Regions from separate parts of the Homo sapiens genome. Here region 2 is linked to region 1. The links are contacts of gene promoters, found by promoter capture Hi-C in human tissues and cell types (Jung and others, 2019). All regions are on one chromosome and are shown on one strand. The core of a region is centred on a gene start or on the middle of the fragment in contact, and the rest is flanking DNA. Distances in the headings are between cores, read along the strand shown.

Region 1 (3,818 bases), core at 787-3,286:
CATGGGGGCTGGGGTTAAGGTTAGGGCAGACCCTTCAGAAATGCTGACGAATAAATGAATGAAGAAATACAGGCAAGAGGAGGGAACAACTTCAAGAAATAGCTTTGGCAGGAGTGAAGCGTGGGAACACAGGGCCACTCCAACAGTAAAGCCGGAGACAGCGTCACGGGGGGGTGTCTGACCACCTCCATCCATTCCACACAACTCTTCACAACCCACAGCTCTGCTACAGCTCTTCTCCTTGGTGACGCAACATCTTCGCCTCCTCTGTCCCTGCCACTGTCTGGTGGTCCAGCTTCAGAGTCTGCACAGCCCTTCCTCGGACAGTGCACGTCCCCTGGCCCATAGCCTTTGTGCAGAAGGCTGGCATTACCATCCCCACCTCGCCATCCTCAGCAGCCCCATGACCTGCCTTGGCCCAGCTGCTGGTTATGTCCCTCCTGGTCCACTGCCCCACCCCCTCCCTGACCTCGAGCCTGGGTCCCACCCCTCTGGGCCACCACCAGTCTTCCAAGGGCAAGCCCACCATCTCCACCCCTCAGTAGCCCCTTCAGAACAAAGTCCAAGCTCCTGGGCAAGGCCTGGCTGGCCCTTCACCGTCTGGGTCCTTCAGGCCCGTCTCTCTCCACCCTGCCCCATCTCAGTACTCCAGGGCTCAGTTCCCACGTGGCACAGAGTAGCTCTGACCACCTGGCCTGGGATACGTCATGCTCTGGGTCTGGAACACCTTCCCCTCTGTCTCCACGCCTGCTAAGAGGTCACCTACTCCTGGGAAGCCCTCCTTTTCTGACACTGCCTCCCTAAGGATGGGTGATCCAGGCTCCAGGCTTCCCTAGTTAATGCTGCCCAGGTCCTCCTTGTCCTTGGATTCAGGGTGCCAGGAGCACCCTGAGAAGCACCCAAAGGGCCAGCCACCCTCTCACCAACTCCTGCATCTCCCACACCACACGCCGCCGGCGGTAGCTAATACAAGTTTCCTTAAAGAGCTCATGAACTTGAAATCAATTCTCTACTTGGGTTACTGCCCCGGAGGCAGGCCAGGGGTCCCTCCCTGAGGCAGTCTGATGGAGGAGTAGGTGTGACCCCTGACCTTGCAAGGAAGAGCCTCTCCTGGATTCTCCACCCCTGCCCTGCCCTGCCCTCCCCACATGCCCCACCACCACGGGGTCCCCGCGGCTCTCACAGGGGCGGGCACCACCTCTGGGGTCTCCAGCTTTCTTACTTTACTCGAAGCGTGTTCACGACCACAGATTCCGCCACCCTCTCAACACGCCTGTCTGGTGGGTGTCAGGCAGTGTTTGTCCCCTTCATGCGTGAGGAGACGAAGGCTCAGAGCGTGAAGCCCGCTCCAAGGTCAGAGAGGGAGTCGCAGCAGAGGCGGGGTCGAGGCTGTGACTCGCGGTGGCCCCCGGTTCCCTCCCACCCCACCCCACGAACCGGCGTCTGGCCGCCCTGAAATGAATGACTCCGCCGCGTCCCGGCGCCGCGCTCCCAGCGCTCCCCTCCGGGACAGCGGCCAAGGTGACTCTGACCGCCTCCGGGTCGCGGGTCGGGCCTGGGCAGGGGTCCCTGGGCCAGGAGAGGGAGGCCGCTCCGCGCTTACCCTCCAAGGCCGCCTTCCAGCTGGTGCTGCCCTCGTAGCCCGACCCGGATCGCCGCAGCAGCCCCTCGGGGCCGCGGGCCTCAGCCTCTGCGGGCGAACGCGGCCTGGGGGCGGCGGGGGCGGGCGCGGGGCGCGCGGCGAGGGGCGGCGGCGGCCGGGCCCGCGAGGGGGGCTCCCGGGCCGGCTCCATGCGGGGCGCTCCGCCGCGCCGCGCCCGCGCTCCTGCACCGGGGTGCGGGGCCCAGCCCGACGCGCACTCGGCGCTCCGCGCGCCCTGCGGGCCCCCCAGGCCGGCCTCGGGTGGGCTAGGACCGCGGCGCTGGCAGGCCGGGGCTGAGCCCGGCTCCCCGCGCTGGAGCCTCTGCGCCGGGTGCCGCCGCGGTGCGCTCAGCGCCTGCCCCGCCGAGCCGCAGCCTCCACGCACAGCCGGGCTGGGGAGGAGCGCGAGGCGGCGCGCGGGAGCCGGGAGCCGTGGACCCGGGCGGGGCGGGGCAGGGGCGGAGAGGGAGGAGGCGCGGAGGAGCGGGGACAGCCGGCTCCCCGACCCCGCCACCTGGGCTGGAGGCTGGATGCTGTCGAGCTGGGAGCGCAGTCTTGGAGCCGGGAGACCTGGTTCTAACTCAGCTCCATCTCCCCAGCCGCCTGCTCACCATCTGTGAAAATGGGAATAAAGTTCGCGGGGACAGTGCAGGGAGGCTCAGGGAAGATGAGCGCCTTTCTTCCCGGCTGCCCTGGAGCCACAGCAGAGGGTGGTAGGGGCTGTGACTTGACCCCCAAACTCTTGATAAAGGAGAGAAACGTCCGAACGATGAGCACAGAGACAGTAGAGTCTAAAGGAGCAAGCGAAGTGACGTTGCAGATTCAATTAACATTTATTGAGCACCTACTAAGCGCCAGGGACTTTCACATATTATTAGCTGACAATGCCCCCAGGTGAGGCTGAGAAGTGGAATTTTGAGGTCAAGGACATTTCCGAAGGCGGCGCCAGGCAGGTGCGTGCTTGGCGGGTGTCTGACTCCCAGGCCAGGGCTCCCTCCGGAGCCTTCACTGGCCCCTTGCCTCAGCTGACCTCGCGTCGCCTGAAGCCCCACGCCTCCAGCCCTGATCCTCTTCCCCCTCCACCATTCTCAGCCCCAACCTCTGGTTCCTGTCTCCATCTTCAGTTCCTCATCCCCAGCTCCTCCTGCTCCCTCCCCCAAATCCAATAGGCCACTGACTCTTGTGAATTCTCCCTTTTAAAATATTTTTATTTTTATTTTTTGAGACAGGGTCTCGTTCTGTAGCCCAGGCTGGAGTGCAGTGTCACTACAGCCTCGGCCTCCCAGGCTCAAGCGATCCTCCCACCTGGGTCTCCCAAAGTTCTAGGATTGCAGGCGTGAGCTGCCGTGCCCGGCCCCTTTTTTTTTTTTTTTTTTTTTTTGAGACGGAGTCTCGCTCTGTCGCCCAGGCTGGAGTGCAGTGGCGGGATCTCGGCTCACTGCAAGCTCCGCCTCCCGGGTTCACGCCATTCTCCTGCCTCAGCCTCCCAAGTAGCTGGGACTACAGGCGCCCGCCACTACGCCCGGCTAATTTTTTTGTATTTTTAGTAGAGACGGGGTTTCACCGTTTTAGCCGGGATGGTCTCGATCTCCTGACCTCGTGATCCGCCCGCCTCGGCCTCCCAAAGTGCTGGGATTACAGGCGTGAGCCACCGCGCCCGGCCGCCCGGCCCCTTTTAAACTCTTAGTCTGCGCATTGCACTCCATCCCTCTAGCCACTGGCCAAGTACAAGCCAATGCCTTCTCTTGCCCGACCACAGCAGCAGCCTTCTAAGGGGTCTCCCATCCTCCACTCTTGCTCCCTCCTATCCAGCCCCTCCCCCTCCACACCCGCAGCATCTACCTAAAGTGCAAACTCACCACTCCTTCAGGGGTCCCTTTACCTGTGGATTAAGGCCATCTTTTTACAAGGCCTCAAGGTCCCTCATGGTCAAAGTCCTGCTCCTACCTAAGGCATCCTCTCCTCCCACCCCTTCTCTGCCAGCCCTAGACACACCTAACTATTCTGACTCTTTCCTCTGGGCCTTTGAACACTGTCTTCCTTCTGCCTGGAACACATCTCCTCCTTGGTCCTTCTAACCCCTCCTTGTAGCCCCCATGCACCCTAGTTTGCCTACCAAATTTCTGCTAATGCTTCTGATTGCACAGTCTCTAGGATACTGCATTCATTCAGAGTA
Region 2 (3,818 bases), core at 541-3,040, 1.4 Mb before region 1:
AGGTTATCAGCCGAGAATGAGGATTGGGGATATGTGAAAGTAGCTCCGCAGCAGTATGGGAGCATAAATGAACTGGAGACAAATAGTAAAATTAATGGGCAATTTTTTTTCCTTTAAGAGATGGGGGTCTCACTCTGCTACCCAGGCTGGGGTGCAGTGGCACAGTCATAGCTCACTGCAGCCTCCAACTCCTGGGCTCAAGTGATTTTCTCACCTCAGCTTCCCGAGTAGCCAGGACTATAGGCTAATGGCAATATTAAGTTATTTTATGAGTTGTCTAGACAGCATTATGAGTCTCCTAACTTTTTGGTACTGATCTTCAGATCAGAGTTAAATGTAACTTGCCCAGGCAATTTAAACACTCAATATGAGTCATTTTCATTTGGACTCAAACATGGAATCATTGGGAAATAGAACATGAATTTATTACTCCTTAATGAAGTACCTGCCACTATCCTGCCATGAATGTAGGCTAAATTTGGAGTGGTCTGGTAACTGCTTTTCTTTTAAAAAAATTTTCTTCATCTTTTCTGTATCAAATACTTACTGGTTTTTCTATGTAGAATAACATAATCTCATCATTACTTTCTTTCAAACACTCTCCAAATTTGACTTGTCTTTGCTCATGTTTTTCCTACCACCTGAAATACAGATTTCCTCCCCCATCCCACCCTCCAAACCTTCCAGACTTACCTCACCTACCGTTTATTGTAGGAAGCTTTTCTTAACCTCTTTCCAAGTCCTAGTTTGATGCCTCTGCTTTGTGCTTTTGTAGAATCCCAGAGTTTACCTTGTTTTACTCACTATATCGTATTGTGGGGTTTTTTTGTTAATAGGTATTTCTTTTTCCTCTAGACCTGCACTGTTCAGTCATACTTTCTGTGATGATGGAAATGTTCAGTGTCGTCTTAATATGGTAGACAGTAGCCGTATCTATGTGGCTACTGTGCACTTCAAATTTGCATAGCAGGACTGAGGAACTAAATTTTATTTCATTTTAATTAATTTAAAAATAACTAGCCTGATGGCTAGTGGCTGCTTTAATCAGTGCAGTTCTAGACCCCTTCAAAGTCAAGAGTGTGTGGGATTCATACTTATTCTCTCGTTGCTTAACAATAATACTGTCTAATACTTAAATGACTGAATTCTTTTTCGGTACTCTTAGTCTGCATAGTTATAACTCACCTAGAATATGGCAGTTTTGTTCTCTAGATTTCTGTCTTTAACCATGGCTTTTCAGTTTGTTTTCAAGATTATGTTGATTTACACAGCACTGAGTTCTTCAGTCCTGCGAAGTTAGCGTTTTGGTTGGATGTGGTGGCTGGCATCTGTAATCCCAGCAATATGGGAGGCTGAGGCGGGACGACTGCTTGAAGCCAGGACTTTGAGATCAGCCTGGGCAACATAGCGAGCCCCTGTCTCTACAAAAAATTAGCTGAGTGTGGTGGCATCCACATGTAGTCCCAGCTACTTGGGAGGCTGAGGGCGGGAGGATTGCTTGAACCCAGTTCACGGCTGCAGTGAGCTATGATCACACCACTGCACTCCTGCCTGGGTGACAGAGCAGGAGTCACCCTCTCAAAAAAAAAGTGTATTTTTTCCCCTTTAGGACTGAAAAAATTGGGTGTTACAAGATTACCTCAAGGACTGGTCTGAGAACTGGGGATGGTAAGGAAGAAACTCAAGTGGCCAGCCTCTGGTTTGTGGGGGTAGGTGGGCAATTTCTGTTTCAACCAAAGCAGTTCTACTTCATAAATTAATATATTGGAATTGTGCTTGGGATTTCATTTGGAGGGGAAAAAAGTCTTCTAAACAATAACACTGTTAATTGAAGAGACAAAGCATGCATATGGCAGCACGTGATTAACCACCAAAGTGGATAACAGATCAAGAAGACATGGGAAGTTGTTATGGGCTAGTGAGGTCTTGATGGAAGTTAAGGTTTAATTTAGGTAGGTAGAAGGAAGACAAAAGGATGTAATAGGCAGTGGGAATAGAATTTGCAAAGAATTGGAGTTGGAAATACATATGTTAGTTTTGGTTAAGAAACAATGAGCTGATTATAGTTGAGCAAATTGTATGAAATAAAATTTGACAAAATTAGATGGGACTGGATTGTAGGAAAAAGTGATAGGCTGACAAAAAGTGCACTTTATATTGCATGCAATGAGATGAAATACTCGGAGGTATTTTGGTTGTTACAAAGATGGAGGAAGAGGACACTATTAGCATTTAATGAGAAAGGATCAGGGAAGTCAGCCATCCCACAATGTTCAGGACAGTTTGCACATTTAAGAATTGTTCCAAATCACCACATGACCTAGAATGACTTGCTGGACTTTGATGATGTAGGTTAAAAAAAAAAAGTGATCATAATGATGTGAGCATAGACAGTAACTCCATTTTGTGTATGAGGCACTTTTTTGTTGTTGTTGTTGTTGTTGTTGTTGTTGTTGTTGTTTTGAGACGGAGTTTCGCTCTTGTTGCCCAGGCTGAAATGCAGTGGCACCATCTAGGCTCACTGTAACTGAGGCACCTTTAATATACACTAAGATTTTCAGGAATTCAGTTACCACAATATTGGAGGAATGTTAAAGTTTTTGTTCAGAACTTTATCAGGAGTACTCCACCCCTTTAGAAAATCACGTAATTGATGGCAGTGTCACTTGTGCTGTATTGGTGACGCAAATACTCTTCAGTCTGCAGTTGTAACTGCCACAGTCACAGTGCTTGTTGTATATATGTACAAAGTACCATCAGTGTGTTATTTATTATAGTAATAGCCTAAATATTATAAAATTGCACTAAGGTAGATTATCTCTGAATTACATTTATTTTTTATTTTTATTTTTGTGACGGAGTTTTGCTCTTATTGCCCAGGGTGGAGTACAATGGCGTGCTCACCAAAACCTTCGCCTCCCGGGTTCAAGCGATTCTCCTGCCTCAGCCTCCCAAGTAGCTGGGATTACAGGCATGTGCCACCATGCCCGGCTAATTTTGTATTTTTATTAGAGACGGGGGTTTTCCATGTTGGTCAGGCTTGTCTTGAACTCCCGACCTCAGGTGATCTGCCCGCCTCGGCCTCCCAAAGTGCTGGGATTACAGGCATGAACCACTGTGCCCAGCCTCTGAATTACATTTAAGGGTAGTATAGAGAATGTACAAAATAGTTGTTGTAAAAAGGAGAAATTGATTTCTGTTTTCAGTATTGGAAGACTGGGTTATTCAGATGAAAACAATTAAAATTCTTGGAAACAGTATTAAAAAAAAAAAAAAAAAAAGAAAACGTAGAGCAGTTGCAGAGCTGAAAAGATAGTGGGGAGCTGCCAGGCCAAATTCTAGGAATAAACAAGAATCCAAATAAATAAGTGGATGAAGTAGCTTTTGCCCTAAAGGCAGTTGCCAATCTGTACAAGTTGGGCTTTGGTTTTGGTGGACCATTGGGGTGAAGAGGACAGAAATCAAGTCCTAGAGTTCATCTAAAGTGACAGTCAAAAAGAATAACCTCAGTTTTAGATGGGACCCCAGTGACTCTATCGTTAGGTTAAGGGTGAAACAACTGAACTGTCTACACACTCCCATATCCATGTGATTGCAGGGAAGGTTGAATGGAGCAGGAGGAGGAAAAGGAAATTAAGAAAAATAAACCTTTCAAGTTGTGACCACAGTTTTAGCCTTCACAGTGATTTGCCTTGAGGGTTTGCTCTGTCTGGGTGGTCCAGGGACCCTCCATGATAAATGACCCTCCAGCCATTTATCATGGTTACTGGTTTCAGACTAGTATTACTTCCATGGCCTGGCAGATGGAAAGGCAAATC

What was found. Contacts are between HindIII fragments. The study calls those that stand out against the background at their distance.
Region 2: a contact is called between a fragment that was not itself captured here and the fragment with the promoter of CLEC2L in region 1, in 1 of the 25 tissues and cell types used here (dorsolateral prefrontal cortex).

The regions. Positions count from the first base shown.
Region 1 is chr7:139,521,903-139,525,720 of GRCh38, reverse strand. CLEC2L (C-type lectin domain family 2 member L) reads right to left here and starts at 2,036. Exons shown (of 5, transcript NM_001080511.4): 1 at 1,604-2,036. The coding sequence starts at 1,793. The HindIII fragment of the contact is 23,998 bases long and covers 1-3,818 here.
Region 2 is chr7:140,908,453-140,912,270 of GRCh38, reverse strand. The region is part of intron 1 of BRAF (B-Raf proto-oncogene, serine/threonine kinase); the gene reads left to right. Among named protein-coding and RNA genes, the nearest start is that of BRAF, 15 kb to the left of the region's middle. The HindIII fragment of the contact is 4,458 bases long and covers 1-3,818 here.